2 separate regions of the Homo sapiens genome follow, and region 2 is linked to region 1. Evidence: promoter capture Hi-C in 16 types of primary human blood cells and fetal thymus (Javierre and others, 2016). All regions are on one chromosome and are shown on one strand. The core of a region is centred on a gene start or on the middle of the fragment in contact, and the rest is flanking DNA. Distances in the headings are between cores, read along the strand shown.

Region 1 (4,732 bases), core at 291-2,790:
CAAGTGATTCTCCTGCCTCAGCCTCCCGAGTAGCTGGGATTACAGGTGCCTGCCACCACACCCGGCTAATTTTTGTAGTTTTAGCAGAGACAGGGTTTCACAATGTTGGCCAGGCTGGTCTCAAACTCCTGACCTCATGTGATCTGCCTGCCTCTGCCTCCCAAAGTGCTGGGATTACAGGCGTGAGCCACCACGCCTGGCCTCATCTTTGTATTTGGATTCAGAACTCATTTTGGTGGTGGCAAGACAACTGGCTTTGGCATGATTTATGATTCACTGGATTATGCAAAGAAAAATAAACCCAAATGCTGACTTCCAAGACATGGCCTGGATGAGAAGAAAAGAACTCAAGAAAGCAATGAAAGGAACACAAGACCAGAATGAAGAAAGGGGGACTGCAAAGGACAGTGTTGGTGTGGCAAAAAGCCAAAGGAGTAAAGATGCTACAGTAACATCTGTGGCCACTGTGGATTTTTCACAAGATTTATAAACTAAAAACTTTTGTGTGCAAAAAAAAATGGATGGGGGTATGCTAAAGAGACACAGGAGCCAACGGAAACAGCTCTCAAAGGCCAAAGCTAGAACGAAATTAGCTAGAAAATAAATATGAAGTATATTGGATTATAACCCAAAGTATAAATGTCCATGAGTCCATACTGATTAAATAAATGGTTGAATAAATAATGGAGGAGTAGAGACAAATATCTCATATGAAAGAACTCCAGGCCAGGGATGGTGGCTCACGCCTGTAATCCCAGCACTTTGGGAGGCTGAGGCGGGTGGATCACGAGGTCAGGAGATCGAGACCATCCTGGCTAACACGGTGGTCTCTATTAAAAATACAAAAAATAAGCCGGGCGTGGTGGCGGGCACCTGTAGTCCCAGCTACTTGGGAGGCTGAGGCAGGAGAATGGCGTGAACCCGGGAGGCGGAGCTCTCAGTGAGCTAAGATCGCGCCACTGCACTCCAGCCTGGGCGACAGAGCGAGACTCCGTCTCAAAAAAAATAAAAAATAAAAATAAAGAGCCTAAGGACTAAGGATTTAATTAACCAAGCACCAACCCGTGCAGCCTCAGGAGACTGGTCCCGCAGCGCAAGTGTGTCCCTCTACCCCCCGCAAGCCGGGCCGCGTCTTCCTGGCTCTCCTGGCGCCGGCACCGAGCAGGGCGTGGACCTGAACTTATGTGACCCCACCCGGTCACAACCCGGGGTAGGAAGCTAAAGCCGTCCGCCCACCCGAGGGGCGGTCCCAGCACCCCAGTGGGGGACTGCTGCGCTCGGCCTCTGTGTTCGATCGGGAACCCAGGTCTCTTCCCTGCCAATAACAAAACCGCCGCGTCCCGGGCCTCCCTTCCGGAGCCGGAGTCGGCGGCCGAGCGCTGGTGGCGGAGCCTGGACAGTTAATTCCAACCGCCTCCGGGTGATTCCGGGGACAGGAGCGCCGAGAGCTCCTCCCTTTGGCCGCGGAGCCGGCTCGGCGCTGATTGGCTGAGGGCCTCGGTTGTGGCTCTTGAAGGCTCCCCATTGGCCCCGCGCTCCAGTGGCAGGAGTGTGGCGGCCCGGCCTCCGCAGGCTACCCGGGGTTGAAGCTACTGCGAGCTCCGGTGGCTGCCTGGGGACGCTCAGGGACGCTCATTCCTGGCCAGAGTCCTGACTTCTTTCTCGGATCGAGATCTCGTTGCTGGCTCGAGGAAATCACCGGCTCTTCTCCCGGATCCTTTTCTTCTCTCACTTGCTGGCTTTCTTCTTCCTGCCTCCCTGGCTTCCATCTCCCAACCCCGCGATTCCCTCCTCTACTCCCGTGCTCCCGTCGCCCGCCATCCTGAGCCATCCCACCTGCAACCTTCTGTCTTTTGCCCCTCCTTGACCTCAGAGGGTCCTGCCTTAAGCTTCTCACCAGAATCTCCTAGATTTCTATCTCTTCCCTGCTTGCCAGCTCTTGACTCCCAAATTCCAGCTGACGTTTGACCACTTGACATTTGACCCTGACACCCTTGACTGCAAATCTAAATTCTTATCTTCTGCAACCTGTACTGCTGAAACAGGCCTTCCCCCTGTCTTCCAACCCCGCTTTCTGACACCCATTTTTACTTTCTTACTCTTGGGTCAGTTCCTGCTACAGCTATCCCACCATGGACTTCTTGATGAGTGGCCTGGCAGCCTGCGGGGCCTGTGTATTCACCAATCCCCTGGAGGTGGTGAAGACCAGGATGCAGTTGCAAGGAGAACTGCAGGCCCCTGGCACATACCAGCGGCACTACCGAAATGTCTTCCATGCCTTCATCACCATCGGCAAGGTGGATGGCCTTGCTGCCCTGCAGAAAGGCCTGGCCCCCGCCCTCTTGTACCAGTTCCTGATGAATGGCATCCGACTGGGCACCTATGGGCTGGCTGAGGCTGGGGGCTACCTGCACACAGCCGAAGGCACCCACAGTCCTGCCCGCAGCGCAGCAGCTGGGGCCATGGCTGGGGTCATGGGAGCCTACTTGGGGAGCCCCATCTACATGGTAAGAAGAGGGCTCTTGCCTGGGACCTTCAGGGCAGATCCTCGTTGTAGGATAGGAGCTGTTCTTTCCCAAGGGCATAGGTGGCAGAGTGCTGCCCCACTGCAAGCAGGGAAAGGCATCAGGAAAGTGCTGGTAGGCTTCGGAGTCTTCTGATCTGCCCTATACACACCCATCTGATGGACACGATTGAATGTATTGATTAAGATTATGGGCTTTGGGGCCGGGTGCAGTGGTTCACACCTGTAATCCCAGCACTTTGGGAGGCCAAGGCGGGCGGATCACGAGGTCAGGAGATGGAGACCATCCTGGCTAACACAGTGAAACCCCGTCTCTACTAAAAATACAAAAAATTAGCCGGGTGCGGTGGTGGGCGCCTGTAGTCCCAGCTACTCGGGAGGCTGAGGCAGGAGAATGGCATGAACCCGGGAGGCGGAGCTTGCAGTGAGCCGAGATCCGGTCACTGCACTCCAGCCTGGGCCACAGAGCAAGGCTACGTCTCACAAAAAAAAAAAAAAAAGATTATGGGCTTTGGAATCAGACTTTCTGGAACTAAAATCCTGGCTTTGAAAATTACTAGTTGTTGGCCGGGCGCGGTGGCTCACGCCAGTAATCCCAGCACTTTGGGAGGCCGAGGCGGGCGGATCACGAGGTCAGGAGATGGAGACCATCCTGGCTAACACGGTGAAACCCCGTCTCTACTAAAAATACAAAAAATTAGCCGGGCGTGGTGGTGGGCGCCTGTAGTCCCAGCTACTCCGGAGGCTGAGGCAGGAGAATGGCCTAAACCCAGGAGGCGGAGCTTGCAGTGAGCTGAGATCCGGCCACTGCACTCCAGCCTGGGCCAGAGAGAGAGACTCCGTCTCAAAAAAAAAAAAAAAAAGAAAAGAAAGAAAATTACTAGTTGTTGAGCTTCAGTTGCCACATCTGTAAAATGGTGATAATTATAGTGCCCTTTCTGTGTGATTATTGGGAGGATCGAGGGAGACAAATGCGGTAGACATGAAAGCATTAGTGCGAATCCTGGCAGACAGTAAGCATTTGGTAGCATTTGTTTTTATTATTATGTGTTGATATTGAGGTTGGATTTGTGAAGGGGAGGATAAGGAATTTAACATACGTCAGAGAGTCTAGGGATCAGGAAGGCCCTGGGCATCACAGAATTAACAATCTCAACATCTGCCCCTTTGAGTTATCTGGTATAGGTGAAGGGTCAAGAGCCTGAGGCCCAGAAAGGGGAAGTGACCCACTCAAGGTCACACAGCTGTTTATTGCTAGGACTAGGCCCTGCTTAGTGCTCCCAAGAGCAAAAGAGACGGGGAAGTAGTATGTCCTGTAGCAGAGGCAGTCTGGTCTCATTTCAAGGTGTGAGTTTCAGGGACAGTGGTCTCCCCAAAGTCAGCTCGATACCTCTGTGGGGGTTGGGGGCTAGAGAGCAAGTTTTGCCCAGAGTCTGATGGGGAGCCTGATAGAAGTGGTGGCTGGAGATCCAGTCTGGGAATGGGAGCTAGCATGAGAGGCGGGACACCAGGTCTTGCCTAACATGAACAGCCTTAGGAAATATTGCCATTCTCCAACCACTCCACCCCCGACTGCTAGCCCCAAGGGAAAGAGGATATGAAGGGGTTGGGGTGTCTTGCAGTGCTGGGAGATCCACCCCCCTGGGGCTGGAGCCTAGAGACAGAGTCTTTTTGTTAACCAGTTTGTTAAGTAGGAAGAACAATAATCAGAGTAAGAGGCTATTCATTGCTGAACACCCTAGAGGAAGTGTGAGGGGGTGAGACATTTGGTTCTCAGGTAGGAGGATGGCCACTGGGGCACAGGCTATGATATTCTCTTGTTCCCAGGTGAAGACACACCTGCAGGCACAGGCAGCCTCAGAAATTGCTGTAGGGCACCAGTATAAGCATCAGGTGAGGGTTCCCAAGTCTGCCAAAGTCCCTGACCATCCTTTCTCTTTTCCCCTAGCTTTCTGCCTGCACCCAACAGATCCAATCCCAGCCACTGCTCTGCTCAACCCATCGGTTCTGTCCCATTTTGCCCCTGGAGTCTACCCAGACCCTCTTTACTCTTTTTTTAGATGGAGTCTCGCTCTGTTGCCCAGGCTGAAGTGCATTGGCACGATCTCGGCTCACTGCAACCTCCGCTTCCCGGGTTCAAGTGATTCTCCTGCCTCAGCCTCCCGAGTAGCTTGGGACTACAGGCGTGCACCACCACACCCAGCTAAA
Region 2 (4,316 bases), core at 1,655-4,154, 44 kb after region 1:
GTCCTTTGCTGGAGAGAGGTGTCCTTTGCTGGAGAGATGTGTCCTTTGCTGGAGAGATGAATTAGGTTCCTAAAAAATAACATTAACTAAGCCGGGCGTGGTGGCTCACATCTGTAACCCCAGCACTTTGGGAGACTGAGGCAGGTGGATTGCCTGAGGTCAGGAGTTGGAGATCAGCCCGGCCAACATAGTGAAACCCTGTCTCTACTAAAAATATAAAATTAGCTGGGTGTGGTGGCGGGCGCCTGTAATCACAGTTACTAGGGAGGCTGAGGCAGGAGAACTGCTTGAACCCGGGAGGCAGAGGTTGCAGTGAGCCGAGATCGCGCCATTGCACTCCAGCCTGGGCAACAAGAGCAAAACTCCGTCTCAATAAATAAATAAAATAAAAATAACATTAACTATGGCCTATCTGTTGAACTGATTTCAGATTTCAAGGAAAATTGCGGCGTTATGGATAGGGTAGGGGAAAGTAATATGGACATTTAGAGAAACAAGGTAACCTGAAAAATGTAACCTTGGAGATTTTAAGGAATCTTGCAAAATGTGGTCTTTATTAATGTGGTAGGGAGGTGTACAGGCACACACCTGACACGTGTTCCTGGAGTACATGCACTTTGCTGGGCCCCAGTCAAGGTCTTAGAAACACCGCTGTGAATCAAGACAGAAACTCTGTCTGCTCTCACAGGGTTTATATTTTATTGGGGGAGAAAGGCCAAGTACCCAGACATTTCCAGTCCCGTGTGGTGAAGGTCAGGGGACTGTGGACACCAATCCTGCACTTCAGGTGTCAGGAAAAATTTCCTGAGAGAAATGGTATCAGCCATGGATTGAATGTTTGTGTATCTCCCCCTCCCAATTCATATATTGAAACCCTAATCCTCAATGTTATGGTATTTGGAGGTGGGGCCTCTGGGACGTAATTAGGTCATGAAAGTGGAACTCTCAAGAATGAGCTACTAATCTCACCAAACCTCTTATAATCTGCCCTTATAAGAAGAGGCCAGATTGGGCGGGGCATAGTGGCTAACACCTGTAATCTTAGCCCTTTGGAGGCTGAGGTGGGAGGATTGAGCACAGGCGTTCGAGACCAACCTGGGCAACATGGCAAAAACCCCATCTCTCTCAAAAAAGATACAAAAATTTGCTGGGTGTGCTGGCATGTGCCTGTAGTCCCAGCAACTAGGGAGGCTGAGGTGGGAAGATCACTTGAGCCTGGGGAGGCGGAGGCTGCAGTGAGCAGTGATCAAGCCGCTGCACTCCAGCCTGGGCAACACAGTGAGAACTTGAGATCAGGAGTTCCAGACCAGCCTGACCAACATGGTGAAACCTCATCTCTACTAAAAAAAATACAAAATTAGCCGGGCGTGGTGATGCGTGCCTGTAATCACAGCTAATTGAGAGGCTGAGGCAGGAGAATCACTCGAACCCGGGAGGCGGAAGTTGCAGTGAGCTGAGATCGAGCCATTGCACTCCAGCCTGGGCAACAAGAGTGAAACTCTGTCTCAAAACAAACAAAAACAAACAAACAAAAAAGGATCTCTGATCACAAAGCTTTTGTTTAAGAATTTATTGCTTGATGATATCATGTCATAAATTATTTATTTATTTATTTATTTTCTTTTTCTTTTTTTTTGAGATGGATTCACTCTGTCACCCAGGCTGGAGTGCAGTGGCACAATCTGGGCTCTCTGCAACTTCTGCCACCTGGGTTCAAGCAATTCTCCTGCCTCAGCCTCCCAAGTAGCTGAGATTACAGGCATGCGCCACCACGCCCAGCTAATTTTTGTATTATTAGTAGAGACGGGGTTTCCCTATGTTCGCCAGGCTGGTCTCCAACTCCTGACCTCAAGTGATCTGCCCGCCTCGGACTCCCAAAGCGTTGGGATTACAGGCGTGCGCCACCATTCCGACCCATAAATTATTAAAACAAAAAAAAAGAATTGCTTAAGCAGGGCTGGGCATGGTGGCTCACATCTGTAATCCTAGCACTTTAGGAGGCCAAGAGGGGCAGATCACTTGAGGTCAGGAGTTCAAGACCAACCTGGCCAACGTGGTGAAACCCTGTCTCTATTAAAAATACAAAAAATTAGCCGGGCGTGGTGGCAAGCACCTGTAGTCCCAGCTACTCGGGAGGCTGAGGCAGGAGAATCACTGGAACCTGGGAAGCAGAGGTTGCAGTGAGCCAAGATTGAGCCATTGCACTCCAGCCTGGGTGACAGAGTAAGACTCTGACTCAAAAAAAAAAAAAAAAAAAAAGAATTGCTTAAGCAGATCCTGAATTCCAGCAGAACAGCTGACTCCACCAGCTCAAAGACTCCCACAGAAGCCAGGAGCAGTGGCTCACGCCTATAATCCCAATGCCTGTAATCCCAGCACTTTGGGAGGCCAAAGCAGTGGACTGCTTGAGCCCAGGAGTTTGAGACCAGCCCTGGGCAACATGGTAAGACCCTGTCTTTATAAAAAAAAAAATTAAAAATTAGTGGGGCATGGTGGCATGTACCTGTGGTCCCAGCTACTCAAGAGGCTGAGGTAAGAGGATCGCTTGAGCCCATGAGTTTGAGGCTGCAGTGAGCTACGATTGTGCCACTGCACTCCAGCCTGGGTGACAGAGCAAGACCCCGTCTTTCTTTTTCTTTTTTTGAGATGGGGTCTCACTCTGTTGCCAGGCTGGAGTACAGTGGCACGATCTCGGCTCACTGCAACCTCTGCCTTGCGGGTTCACGCGATTCTCCTGCCTCGGTCTCCCGAGTAGCTGAGACTACAGGTGCACACCACCATGACCAGCTAATTTTTGTATTTTTAGTAGAGATGGGGTTTCACCATGTTCGCCAGGATGGTCTCAATCTCTTGAACTCGTGATCCACCCACCTCAGCCTCCCAAAGTGCTGGGATTATAGGCGTGAGCGACTGCGCCAGGCAGACCTCATCTTTCAAATTAAAAAAAATAAAAAAAAAAAAAGACTCCCACAGTGGAACCAAGTGAGCATGAGAATCAGTTTCTTCATCTCCCTGTTTCATGACCTCACCCTGCACTCTTCAATCAATGATTTTCACACTTCATCCTAATCCTATTCCAAACTCTTTTTTAAAAACCCTAGCCCCAAAGTACTCTGGGAGATGGATTTGAGGTTTCCTCCTGTCTCCTTGTTCAGCAGCCCTATGATTAAACCTCTTTCTCTGCTGCAACCTGGTGTCTTGGTGTATTGACCTCCAGTGTGCATCAGGCAACAGAACTATTACAGTTAATACTTTTAGCCTAACATTCAAAGGCCCTCCCCATCTATCCCAAACTACCTATCCAATTTCTGGTCCCACTGCCTCTCAGCGGGACCCTGGCTTTACTCACCAAACTCTGCTGTTCCCCTAGTCTTGCCACTCAGTAAACACTACCATCATCCAATTTGTTGCTCAAGACAAAAACACAGAAGTCATCCTTAATTCTCTTTCCCTCAGACTCTCTAAATCCAATCCACCAGGAAATCTATTTCCAATCATGTCTCAAATCTCTCATCTCTTCATCTCTACTACCTCACTCTAGTTCAAGTAAGCCACCACCATCACTCACCTGGACCAATGCATTAACCTCCTGACCACTGCATAACCACAATTCATTTGTCACACATCAGCATAAAGTGGATTATGGCTTCCCATTACACATGGTATAAATTCCAACTCAGCATCCTGGTTTACCAAGTCTGGCCACTCTCTGGCCTACCTTTCCAACCCTATCTCACACCATTCTCTTTTTCACCCACAATGCACCAACCACACATTAGCTTCTTTTTTATTTCTCTAACTTGCCAAGCTCAGTCCTGGAAGGCATTTTTTTCACCCTGACATATGCATGGCTAGCTCTTGTTATTTAGATTTCTGGTGATTCGCCTTCGTGGAAAAGGCTTCACTAGCCACTCAAGTAGTTACTATCAGATGGCCGGCCCTATTTTAATTTCCTGTAAAGCGCTTATCACTATTGGATGTTTTTATTTTTCGCTCTATATTCCCCACTAGAAAAAAAATCTCTACGTGGGCATGGGATGTTGCTGCTTCGTTTCCATTGAATTACCAAGGCTTAGAACAATACCAGGGCTTGAAACGCAAAAAAATTCTAAAACTTGTGGAATGACTTAATGAACTCTTGATTCTCACCACTCTTCAGCCCCTCCCCAACTTTCAGGACAGTCTTCCTGAAGGCATTTTGTTTATTAAGCCACTTGATTTCCGTCTATCATTCCCAGTAAAATATAAGCTTCAAGAGCTCAGAGACAGGGTTTGCGTGCATGAGGGCTGTATTCCATGACCAGCATGGTGCCTGA

What was found. The method cuts DNA at HindIII sites, captures the fragments that hold promoters and counts their contacts. A CHiCAGO score of 5 or more calls a contact.
Region 2: a contact is called between a fragment that was not itself captured here and the fragment with the promoter of SLC25A35 in region 1, in 12 of 17 cell types (endothelial precursors, naive CD8 T cells, total B cells and 9 more). The highest score is 8.1, in endothelial precursors.

What each region holds. Positions count from the first base shown.
Region 1 is chr17:8,292,208-8,296,939 of GRCh38, reverse strand. SLC25A35 (solute carrier family 25 member 35) reads left to right here and starts at 1,540. Exons shown (of 5, transcript NM_001320870.2): 1 at 1,540-2,507; 2 at 4,352-4,417. The coding sequence starts at 2,133. RefSeq lists enhancers at 921-1,050, 1,671-1,720, 1,741-1,820. The HindIII fragment of the contact is 5,205 bases long and covers 1-1,891 here.
Region 2 is chr17:8,249,612-8,253,927 of GRCh38, reverse strand. PFAS (phosphoribosylformylglycinamidine synthase) reads right to left here. Exons shown (of 28, transcript NM_012393.3): 2 at 1-69. Among named protein-coding and RNA genes, the nearest start is that of PFAS, 2.5 kb to the right of the region's middle. The HindIII fragment of the contact is 2,695 bases long and covers 1,557-4,251 here.